Linked DNA regions of Homo sapiens: region 1 is linked to region 2. The links are contacts of gene promoters, found by promoter capture Hi-C in human tissues and cell types (Jung and others, 2019). All regions are on one chromosome and are shown on one strand. Each heading gives the region's core, a stretch centred on a gene start or on the middle of the fragment in contact. The rest is flanking DNA. Distances are from core to core; before and after follow the strand shown. Region 1 overlaps KCNIP3 (potassium voltage-gated channel interacting protein 3). Region 2 holds the start of FAHD2A (fumarylacetoacetate hydrolase domain containing 2A).

Region 1 (5,954 bases), core at 613-3,112, 37 kb after region 2:
CAGTTATCTCCAAAATGATTCACAGATTTCATACAATTCCTATCAAAATCCCAGCAAGAGTTTTTTTGTACATACAGACAACATGCTCTAAAATTTATCTAGAAAGACAGAGGAACTAGAATAGCTAAAATAATTTTGTGAAAGAAGAATAAAGATATTGGTTTTTTTATTTTTATTTTATTTTATTATTTTTTTAAGACAGAGTTTGGCTCCGTCGCCCAGGCTGGAGTGCAGTGGCATGATCTCAGCTCACTGCAACCTCTGCCTCCCGAGTTCAAGTGATTCTCCTGCCTCAGTCTCCCGAGTAACTGGGACTACAGGCACGCACCACCACACCTAGCTAGTTTTTGTATTTTTAGTAGAGACAGGATTTCACCATGTTGGCGAGGCTGGTCTCGAACTCCTGACCTCAGGAGTTCCTGAGTGATCCGGCCACCTCAGCCTCCAAAAGTGCTGGGATTACAAAGATATTGTTAAATAAAAAGGTAAGCACAGACTGGGAGAAAATATTACCTTTGCAAACTGCATATCTGACAAAGGATATACAGAATATATAAAGAAGTCTCAAAACTCTGCAGTAAGAAATCAAAGAACTCAAATTAGTAAATGTCAAAAAACCTAATCAAACACTTCACTATAGAGGATAAAACGCTGATAAAATAAGCACAAGAAAGAGGATTAGCATCATTTTCCATTAAGGAAATGCAAATTGAAACCTCAGTGAAATACTGCTATATACCTATGAGAATTGCTTACATAACAAATATTGACAATGTCGGGCGCTTGCAGTGGGGGGATGCAGAGCGACGGGAACCACTATATGTTGCTGGCAGGAGAGAGAAGTGGTACTGCCATGCTGGAAATCACGTTGCCACTTTCTTATAAAGAGGCTCTTCCCATAAGACCCAGCAATCCCATTTCTGGTTATTTACCCAAATGAAATGAAAGCTACTATATTCAACTTTAGGCAAATGTTTAGAGCAATTTTATTCAAAATTGCCCCAAACTGTATATACAAATGCCCTCCAACTGGTGAGTGGATGAGCTGTGGTACATCACACAAGGAAAGATACTCAGCAACAATACGGAACAAACTCCTGACACACGCAAAACATGAATGAATCGCACATGCAATGACGTGAAAGAGTCCAGACTCCAGAGGCAGATCATGTCTGACAACATCCATGGGACAGTCTGGAAAAGATAAAAGGACAGAAAATTACAGGGAAAGAGAACAGATCAGTGGCTGCCTGGGGGCTGACTACCAAAGAGGCAGCATAAGGCAATTTTTTGTGGTGACGACATTGTTCTATATCGCCAGGTGCCCGGTGTGGTGGTGCACACCTGTAGTCCTACCTCTCAGGAGGCTGAGGTGGGAGGACTGCTTGAGCCCTGGAGTTCAAGGCCGCCATGAGCTAGGATCACACTACTGCACTCCAGTCTGGGCGACAGAGACCCCATCTCCAAAAACTAAGTAAGTAAATAAAAATTAAAATTAAATTAAATTAAAATAAATTGTTCCACATCTTGATTGTGGTAATGGTTACATGACTATGCATGTATCGAGATTCATAGAACTAGACAGCCAAAAAGGTAAATTTTACATTAATTTAAATTAGAAAAAATGAGAATACTTAGCTATGGGGAGGAGGGAAATAGGGGTGTAAAAGAGGAAAAACAAATGAGAGGCTGTAAATGGGTCAAGGCTGATGATATCCCATGAACTACAGAGTAGGATGAACTTAATCCTCTTTCCCGAGGGCCAAGAAACAAAATAAGACAGAAACTCCAAACCTGCTGCTATTTCTTCCATTAAAAACAACAAAACTCCTTGACCATATTTTCCCCTAAGCCTTTTTCTCACCTCCTGTAACTCCCTGCCTTCACTTCCTCTCCTCCTGTTCTCCCTCAAACTTACTCCACTCCAAGAAAACTGCTCTTACAAGGATCGTGGATGATCTCCATGTGGTCAATATTGTAATTTTGATTTAAAAAATGACATAAGGGGCCAAGTGCGGTGGCTCATGCCTGTAATCCCAGCACTTTGGGAGGCCGAGGCGGGTGGATGACCTGAGGCCAGGAGTTCAAGACCAGCCTGGCCAACATGGCGAAACCCCGTCTCTACTAAAAATACAAAAATTATCTGGGCACAGTGGTGCACGCCTGTAATCCCAGCTACTTGGGAAGCTGAGGCAGGAGAATTGCTTGAACCCTGAAGGCGGAGGCTGCAGTGAGCTGAGATCATGTCACCGTAATCCAGCCTGGGCAACAGAGAGAGACTCTGTCTCAAAAAAAAAAAAAAAAAAAAAGACATAAGGACAAGGTGTTAATCCATTCTTGCATTGCTAGAAAGGAATACCTGAGACTAGGTAAATTTTTTATTTTTTTGAGACAGGGTCTCACTCTGTTGTCCAGGCTGGAGTGCAGTGGTGCAATCACAGCTCACTGCAGCCTTCCAGGCTCAGGTGATCCTCCCACCTCAGTCTCCCAAGTAGCTGAGACTACAGGCACACACCACTATAACCAGCTAATTTTTTTTATTTATAATAGAGACAGGGTTTTGTCATGTTGCCCAGGCTGGTCTCAAACTCCTGGGCTCAAGTGATCCTCAAGACTGCATTATTTATAAAGAAAAGACGTTTATTTCACTTGTGGTTCTGCAGGATGTACACAAAGCACAGTGCTGGCATCTGCCTCTGGTGAGGGCCTCAGGAAGCTTCCAATCGTGATGGAGGGTGAAGAGGGAGCAAGCAGGTCACGTGGCAAGAATGGAAGCAAGAGACACAAGGGAGGAGGTGCCAGGCTCTTTAATGTATTATATAAATTGTATAAAAGTCAGATTTCACATGAACTCATGGAGAGAACTCACTCATTACCATGAGCATGGTGCTGGGCCATTCAGGAGGGATCCGCGCCCGTGATTCAATACTTCCCACTAGTCCCCACCTCCAACATTGGGGATTCATTTCAACATGAGATGTGGGGGGGGACAAACATCCAAACCATATCAGAAAACGCAAGAGTGAGAGTGAACAACGTATGCCTAATGCCACTTTTGAACACAGATGCAAAACCCTAAACCAAATGTTAGCTAAATGAAGCCAATGGCATTTTTTTAAGTACATCATGATCAAGAAGATTTTATCTGGAAGAACATAAAGAGGAAAAATCACATGAAAATCTTAATGCAGAAAGGGCATTTGATAAGCTTTCATGTCTATTTATAATTAAAATAAACGATGACCAAAAAAAACTCTCAGCAAACCAGGAGTCAAAGGGAAGTTCTTTAACGTGATTTGCTTATATTTGCAAATCACATATTTACAAAAAAAATTACAGAAAATATTGGATTTAATGGCAAAAGCTTAGATACATTCCCTTTAATATTTGGGACAAGTTTGGCCACAGTCCCCACTAATCAATGTCCTGCCAATGCTCTTAGGAAATTTAGAAAAGAAATAAATAGTGTACGAATTGAGAAGTAAAGGATAAAATTAACATTATTTAGATGATAGGGTCCCCAGAGGGACTAAAAGAATCAACAGACAGGAGAGTTCAGTAAGGTTGCCAGATATAAGATTAATCGATACAAAAATCAATAGCAGTTCTCTACACCAGTAATAACCATCTAGAAAATATAATTAAAAATACCAAGATAAACACTCACAATAGCAATAAAACTAAAGAGTATCTCTAAGTAGTAATAAAAACTCAAAGGACCTCTACATGGAAAGATATTCTGAATACATGAGACATTCCATCTTATGGCCACATATTAATGTCATTTCTCCCCAAAGTAATCTGTAAGTAAATTCAGTGCAATTCCAATAAAAAATTCAGTTGGATTTTTTTTTTGGAAAGCTTGATAAACACACACTGAAATGTATATGGAGAAACAAACAATTCATAAAAACCTAAAAAGAAAAATAACAAGGGAGGAGTTTCTCTCAGACACTAGTACATGTTGTATAGTCATTGTAATAAAAATTGTATGGTTGGTACAAGAACAGACAAACGTACCAACAAACAGACCAGAGAGCTCAAAAAAGAGAGTGACGTGTAGGAGGGAATTTCATGAAAGCTATGGGAAAAAAGGTCAGAGTGTTTAGTAGATGGTGTTAGGAAAACTGGATCACCACATAAAGAAAACAATCTAGACTCCTTCCATATCCCACATGCAAATGTAGGTTCCAGGTGCATTAGAGACCCCAATGTGAATGGTAAATGATAGAGCTATAATAAAATGTAAAAGAGCCTCCTGTTAACCTAAGATTCTGGACAGATTTCTTAAAACTCCAAAAGCTCAAACCACAAGGAAAAAAAAGGATGAATCTGATTACATCAAAATTAAAGATTTCTGTTCAACAAAGGTCAGAGTGAGACACTCAACAGAATAGAAGAAGATAGCGTAGAGTGTTCACAAATGATGAAAGAAGAATCTCTAGAGCAGGTATCAGCAGAAAGGGAAACCAGAAAGATGGATACAAACCCAAAAGATGGCTCAATTTCAGTAATAAACAGGAACACGTAAATTAGCATGAGAATGCAGTACCTCCTAGATTGCTAAGAGATAATAATAATGAAAAAATAAGTTTTTTTGGCAAATATGTAGATCAATGGTAATTCTGAAACACTCTAGTGCAGGGGTCCTCAACTCCCTGGGCCGAGGACCAGTACTAGTCGGTGGTCTGTTAGGAACTGGGCTGCACAGCAGGAGGTGGGCGGCAGGTGAGCAAGTGAAGCTTCATCTGTATCTACAGCTGGTCCCCACTGCTCGCATTCCTGCCTGAGCTTCACCTCCTGTCAGATGAGCAGCGGCATTAAATTCTCATAGGAGCGCAAACCCTACCGTGAACTGTGCATGCGAGGGGTGCATATGCAGATTTCTGTTTACTAGTGCATAGGATTGAACTGTGTCCCCTCAACTTCATCGTTGAAGTCTTAACCCCCAGTGTGACTGTATTTGGAGATAGGGTCCTTAGGAGGTAACCAAGGTTACGTGGGGTCACAAGGTTGGGCCCTTATCCCATAAGATTGGTAGCCTTATATGAAGAGTAAGAGAGGCCGGGTGTGGTGGCTCATGCCTGTAATCCCAGCACTTTGGGAGGCCGAGGTGGGCGGATCACCTGAGGTCGGGAGTTCGAGACCGGCCTGACCAACATGGAGAAACCCTGTCTCTACTAAAAATACAAAATTAGCCGGGCATAGTGGTGCATGCCTGTAATCCCAGCTACTCGGGAGGCTGAGGCAGGAGAATCGCTTGAACCCAGGAGGCGGAGCTTGCAGTGAGCTGAGATCACACCACTGCGCTCCAGCCTGGGTGACAGAGCAAGACTCCATCTCAAAAAAAAAAAGAAAAAAAAAAGGGTAGGAGAGACAGCTATGTCTGCCTCCACGTGCATGCAGCAAAAGGCCACATGAAGACAGAGCAAGAAGGCAGCCGTCAGCACACCAGGAAGACAGCCCTCACCAGAAACTGACCCTGCTGGCACCCTCTTCTCAGACTTTCTTTCCAGAGCTGGGAGAAAATACATTTCTGTTGTTTAAGTCCTTCAGTCTGTGTTATTTTGTTATGGCAGCCAGAGAAGACTAAGACATCTGGTATATTGTTGGTCTCTCCCTCTACAGGGTGACCGCAGCAGGGATTCGGGTCTCCTCGCTGCCGTACCCAGCCCTGGAACAGTGCCTGTGCATGGGAGGTGCTCTGGAATGCAGGCTGGGTAGGATCCTCCCAGCTATGTTTCCTAGGGTGAGTTTATGGAGTACTGGCGTGGGCTTTAATTTTAATGTCTCTAGGCAGAGCCTGCCTCCTGCAGATTGTCCCAGGCCCCAGCATTCCCTGATGTTTACACCTGTTGGGCACAGAGTGGGCAGGAGAATCAGAGAAAAAGAGATAATATTCCAAGACTCAGGTCCAGTGACAGCAGGTGAACTGGGGTCAAGGGCACCCGGGC
Region 2 (5,678 bases), core at 1,681-4,180:
TGTCTCTGGAGGGTTGAAAGGGCCACTTCTGAGCCTGCAGCAGAACTGTGAGTAACCTTCTTCTACCAGACACCAGCATCAGAGCCTGCAGAGAAAAATGCAGGATCCAGGAGACAGAGGATCCCAGAGCCATCATCAGGTTCCCTGAAATTCCTAGGGCTATAGCCCGAGGCCCTTTGCCCCATCAACCGTTCCCTGCATACCACACGGGAAGTGGTCCAGGCTTGTATTTTACCTGCTATACTTCATAAGGTGAAACTTTTCTAGAGGAGCAACTACTACATGCTACGCAGTAAGTCCCAGGGATTCCAGCGTTCCTTCAACCAGTGCTTTCTGAAAGTTCCCACTGTGCTTGGCTCTGCTGTAGGTATTGGGGAAACAATGTAGGTGAAACTCAGCCCTGCCATTCTCCCTGCACAGGTCACAGATGTTAACAACTGACGTAAGATTCAGCTATCAGGACTAATGCTGTGAAGATGGTCAGGGGCTCTACCCTTCTCTAGTTTCTGGAGGAAGTGATGTGAGCTGAGCTGGGCTAAATGAGCAGGACCAGGAATTAGCTGGGTGGCAGCCCAGCATGGGCAAGTGACGCTGGTGAAACTGGCTTCACAGTGGCCATAAACAATTTTTTAAATGCTATTTTGGTCCTGTTAACCTCCTACTTAAAATGGTTTCCACTGCTCACATGATCAAGCTAGAACCTCTACCAGGCTGTCCCAGTCTTCTAGGAGCAGCGCCCCCACCTGCCTCTCCAGATAATAATTATTTCGTTTCTCCTGATAGAGAACAAGTTGCCTGAGGGAAGAGGCTGCAGACAAACAACAGGGTCTGGGCCTGACAGCCATCACTTGTCATCTCCCTGGGTCCAGGGCACATGTCTGTCTCTTTCACTGCCCAGCACTGTGCCTGGTGCACAGAAGGCTCTCAGTGACTTTCTGCTGAATGAACAAATAAGTGACAGAAGCAGGGGCTTGACATTTCACTACTTGGGAAAGCTTAGTGCTTGTTAACTTCAGGAGACATGGCTGTGCCTTCCCACAAGGGCCAGTTGTAGTGGCTCATGCGTGATATCCCTAACAATTTGGGAGGCCGAGGTGGGTGGATCACTTGAGGTCAGGAGTTCAAGACCAGCCTGGCCAACGTGGTGAAACCCCGTTTCCACTAAAAATACAAAAAACTCGCCGAGTGTGGTGGCAGCCACCTGTAATCCCAGCTACTAGGGAGGCTGAGACACGAGAATCGCTTGAACCCAGGGGAAGGAGGTTGCAGTGAGCTGAGATCGCGCCACTGCACTCCAGCCTGGGTGACAGACGAAGACTCCATCTCAATTAAAAAAAAAAAAATCCTCAGGGCTCAGATCCTGTTTTGAGTCCAAGGCTCCACTTAAAGACAAACACTATTCTCTTGTTTTGTTCTTAATCCACGTCTGGCCTCTATTCCTTACCACATGGTGCCTTCCCTGAATGGTTCCTTGCTCTTACAACAAAGGCGGTATTGTACAGCCTTCTATGCCCAAAAATGTGGAGGCAGCTGATCCCCAGACTCTTGGTCCTCACCTGGAGATTCAATCTGCCTTGTTCAGTTGAAGATTCATTAGACTTAGGTCACCACTGTTGTGGCCCACCAGTTTGACTAGAAAACCGAGGGCTTTGACTTCTCTGCCCTGCTGTCTTACACAAGCACCAACTGTGCCACTGTCAAAAGGCTGTTCGAGCCAATGTGCACACACTCAGACACTCCACATGCTAACATAACAGTAACTGCTGCCGCTGAATGCCAACTATTAAGTGCTCTACCTACAATGTCTGATTTAATTCTCGACAATTGTGGAAGGTAGGTACTGTTAGCCTCATTTTACAGATGAAACAATTAAGGCTTAAAGAGGTTAAGAGATTTGCCCAAGGTTACACAGTCCTAGAGCTAGGAGAGGAAGGAGCTGGGATGTGAATCCAAGTCCAGGTGACATGAAGTCCTTGGTTCAGAAGCTTGTAATGCAAGCAAAAAAATCCAGCTTCAGCCCCCATCCCCCTACCAAGGCCATTTTAACCCAGAATGTTGTGGTGAGAAGTGGGGACCTTCCATAGGAAATCCTCCAAAGTCTCTAAAGATTGTAGTGAGAAGTAGGGACCTCCCACAGGAGATCCTCCAGAGGCCGTAACTGCTAACAGACATGCGTGGGGAAACTACAGGCGCCCTCTGGCTGTTGCCTCAGGGACGAGGCTGGTTACCAGCTCTCCAAGAGAACCCCAGGCCCCACTGACTGTTCCCTTCCCACATGACACACACATGCAGGTTCATTCCAACCTTACAGCAATCTCCTCAGGTAGAGCGCCCTCACTTTAAAGAAGAGGACACTGAGACTCAAAGGGATGATGTCAGGTGCCCAAGGTACTAGTCAGAAAGTGGCCCTGGGGCTTCTGCAACAACCACTATATCACACAGCCCGAGCTCAATCCAACTCTGCAAGAGTCCATAAGCAAAGGGGCGGCGACATGAGGTGGAAACAGTAGCCTCCATCAAACAAAGCCTGAGACATGGGTGTGCACGTCGGATTCCATCCCACCGTCCACTCGCCTGGAACCCGTGCCGGTCCCCCAGTTTCCCCATATGCCCAGCTCCAGCCCCGACAGTTAGTGAGTGCTCACACAGGTCCGCCCCGTCTGTGTGGTCAGAAGCGGCTGGGGATCCGGTACTAGTTCTGCGCTCCGCGGGAGACCGGCGCCACGGACACCCTTCTGGCCTAGACCCAGCCAGGCTCGTCCTACCTGGCCGCGGCGGCCGATCTTCCTGCGCTGTAGGGTTAGAGCTCGCGGGGCCGAAGGTCAAGGGCGGCGGGCGCCTGAGCACTGCCACCAGTGACCGCAGCCAGCCGGGGAAATGCAGCAGCTGCTAACCCAGGGCCACTCGGCCGGATCACCCGAGAGAAAAGCGGGCGCGATCCTGTGACGTCACAGGCAATGGCCACTAGCAGGGCGCCAATCCCGGAGGGGCGGGCCCATCGTGGGGCGGGCGGCTCCGGCGGGTCTTCAGGCTACGGGTTCAGCCAGGCGCCAGCCGCGTTCTCTGGAGACGCTCTCTCTCGGAGGGACCCTGCACTTGCCTGAACTCGAGAGTGGGCGCTGCCCGAAGGTTTGTCCCTGGGCGCTTCGCTGGCCTCATCCGGTCTCGGCCTTGTTCTGGGCCTGGCGCCTTTCCCATTGTTGGGGAAAGTGGTCTAGGAGACCAAGGCAGCGTGCTGGGTGGCAGAGAATGATTTGTGGCTTCTGATTCTGACATATGTCGTTGAGGAGGGGAGGGATGACTGCCCCCGTTTTACTTATGGAGAACCTGGGGCCAGAGCTGTTTTCCCAGGGTGACACAGGCGGTGAGTAGTGGAGCTGGCATTCCTGACCCCAAAGCGCAGCGTTTCCCAGCCACTCTCCGCAGCCAGGCCTTCACCTGCACTGCTGGGCGCAGGTGGGGAAGTGGGGAAACGGGACTCCATCCCCTGCAGAGGGCAGGCGTGTAGGGAGTGGCAGCTGAACTCCACAGACAGCTACTGCTCAGCTCTTCAGCTGCCGACTTTGAACAGTGTGAGGGGCTCTGTACAAGTGGCCCCCACATTACTCAAGGACCAGATCATCAAGAGCTTTACTTGTCCCACGAAGGAGTCTGGACCTTGTTTACGTGCACAGGAGACCGCTGGAAGGTTCTCAGTGGCGTGCCATGTCCCGACTTCTATTTGAGAAGTTTTTCTCTGGCCACCCGTCTGAGGAAAGGTGTCTGGGTGGGTGGTGCGGTTGAGAACAATGGTGGTGCGGTGCGTGGTGGAGAAGGTGAGTGTCCAGAGATGTTCAGGAGGAAGAACTGACAGCTCTGAATGACAGGAGGTGGAAGTGAGAAGGAAGGAGGTACAAGGCCAACTCCTGGGTCTCTAGCTCGGTAGGTGCAGGGCCGTTCATGGAGACAGGGCTCCTGGAGGAGCAGCGGGTCTGGGGAGAGGATGGTGAGCTCCGATTTGCATGGGACATCCAAAGGGCATTGAACGGTGGGCAGTTGGAGACATGGGTCTGGAGCTTGGGACTTCAGCCTAGCTTGCAGAAGGTCACCACAGATATTGAAATGGAACCTATGGGGGTGGCTGTGATCAGGGGGATTCGCTGAGGAGAACCTGGCACAAGGGTTTCACTAAGCCATAGCTCCCAAAGACTTTCTGAAAAGCTAAGTTACAGCCTGGAAGAAAATATCTGTAAAGGCTATATTTGATAAAAAGACTTGTATCCAGAATATAGAAAGAATGCTTAAAAGTCAGTAGATAAAATCAAACAATTCAATTTTTTAGATGGACAAAATATTTGAACTGACATTTCATCAAATAAGATATACAGACAGAAAATTGGGACATGAAGGCTGGGCGCAGTGGCTCACGCCTGCAATCCCAGCATTTTGGGAGGCCGAGGCAGGCGGATCACAAGGTCAGGAGATCGAGACCATCCTGGCTAACACAGTTAAACCCCATCTCTACTAAAAATACAAAAAATTAGCCGAGCGTGGTGGTGGGCGCCTGTAGTCCTAGCTACTGGGGAGGCTGAGGCAGAAGAGTGGCGGGAACCCGGGAGGTGGAGCTTGCAGTGAGCCGAGATCGTGCCACTGCACTCCAGCCTGGGCGACAAAGCAAGACTCTGTCTCAAAAAAAAAAAGAAAGAAAAAATTAGGACATGAAAAGATGCTCAACATCATTAATCATTAAGGATATGCAAATTGCAAGCGCAATGTGACACCATCTCACACCTACTAGAATGGACAAAGAAGACTGATTATACCAAGTACTGGCAAGAATGTGGAGGACCTGGGATTCTTGTACACTGCTGATGGGATTATAAAATAGTACCACCACGATCGAAAACCATTTGTCAGTGTATGAAGAGAATTAAACATACACCTACCATATGATGTAGCCATTTCAATCCTGACTATTGACAGTATTGAATTTTACCTTAGCCCTTTGCTTCTAGAAATAGTGAAGGTTAAGGAATCCCACCACTCTTTTGTTCCAGAAAACCCCCTACTGGAAAGAACCAGTGACTTTCTATATAACCTGGATAAGACTCCCAGATGCTCCCTTGTTTATCTGTGACCAGGCCAGACACAGACCCTCTAAATTCCCATTCTTGGCCTCATAAATGATTAGCTGGGCTGCTTGTCCCACAGATCAATAAGAACAAAAGCCTGTAACCAAACCTTGGTTCAGATTCTCTCCTTTTCCAAGCCCTTGAGCTTTGGCCCACCCACAGCTTGTGCCAACCCGCAGCCCTCCTGAGGTTCCCTCCTGAGAACAGGCTGTCCGCAGGGTAAGACCTCCTCGATCGTGACACTCTTGCTCAGCCCACTTTCCCATAACAGTTCTTTCTAGCCACGTTTACGCCTCCCTATACAAGATCAGCCCTTTGCCTAACCTCTGAGACACTTGCAGATCATATGGGAAGCCTGCGAGTGGCCGCACTGCAACGTTTCCCTATTGCAATGGTCACCCCCACAACAATCCTTTGGAATAAATTCGCTCCTTATATAATCCAGATTTGTTTTTTTGTTTTATAGTAATTACCTGAGAAATTTAAAAAAAATGCTTATGCAATGGCTTATACAGAAATGTTCACAGCAGCCTTTTTACAAAATCCCCAAACTGGAAACAACTCAAT

The links. The method cuts DNA at HindIII sites, captures the fragments that hold promoters and counts their contacts. A contact is called where the count stands out against the background at its distance.
Region 1: a contact is called between a fragment that was not itself captured here and the fragment with the promoter of FAHD2A in region 2, in 1 of the 25 tissues and cell types used here (adrenal gland).

The regions. Positions count from the first base shown.
Region 1 is chr2:95,361,514-95,367,467 of GRCh38, reverse strand. The region is part of intron 2 of KCNIP3 (potassium voltage-gated channel interacting protein 3); the gene reads right to left. Among named protein-coding and RNA genes, the nearest start is that of FAHD2A, 38 kb to the left of the region's middle. The HindIII fragment of the contact is 3,502 bases long and covers 112-3,613 here.
Region 2 is chr2:95,399,960-95,405,637 of GRCh38, reverse strand. FAHD2A (fumarylacetoacetate hydrolase domain containing 2A) reads right to left here and starts at 2,930. Exons shown (of 8, transcript NM_016044.3): 1 at 2,766-2,930; 2 at 1-85. The coding sequence starts at 79. RefSeq lists enhancers at 2,022-2,141, 2,282-3,220, 3,212-3,291, 3,221-4,160. The HindIII fragment of the contact is 15,771 bases long and covers 1,491-5,678 here.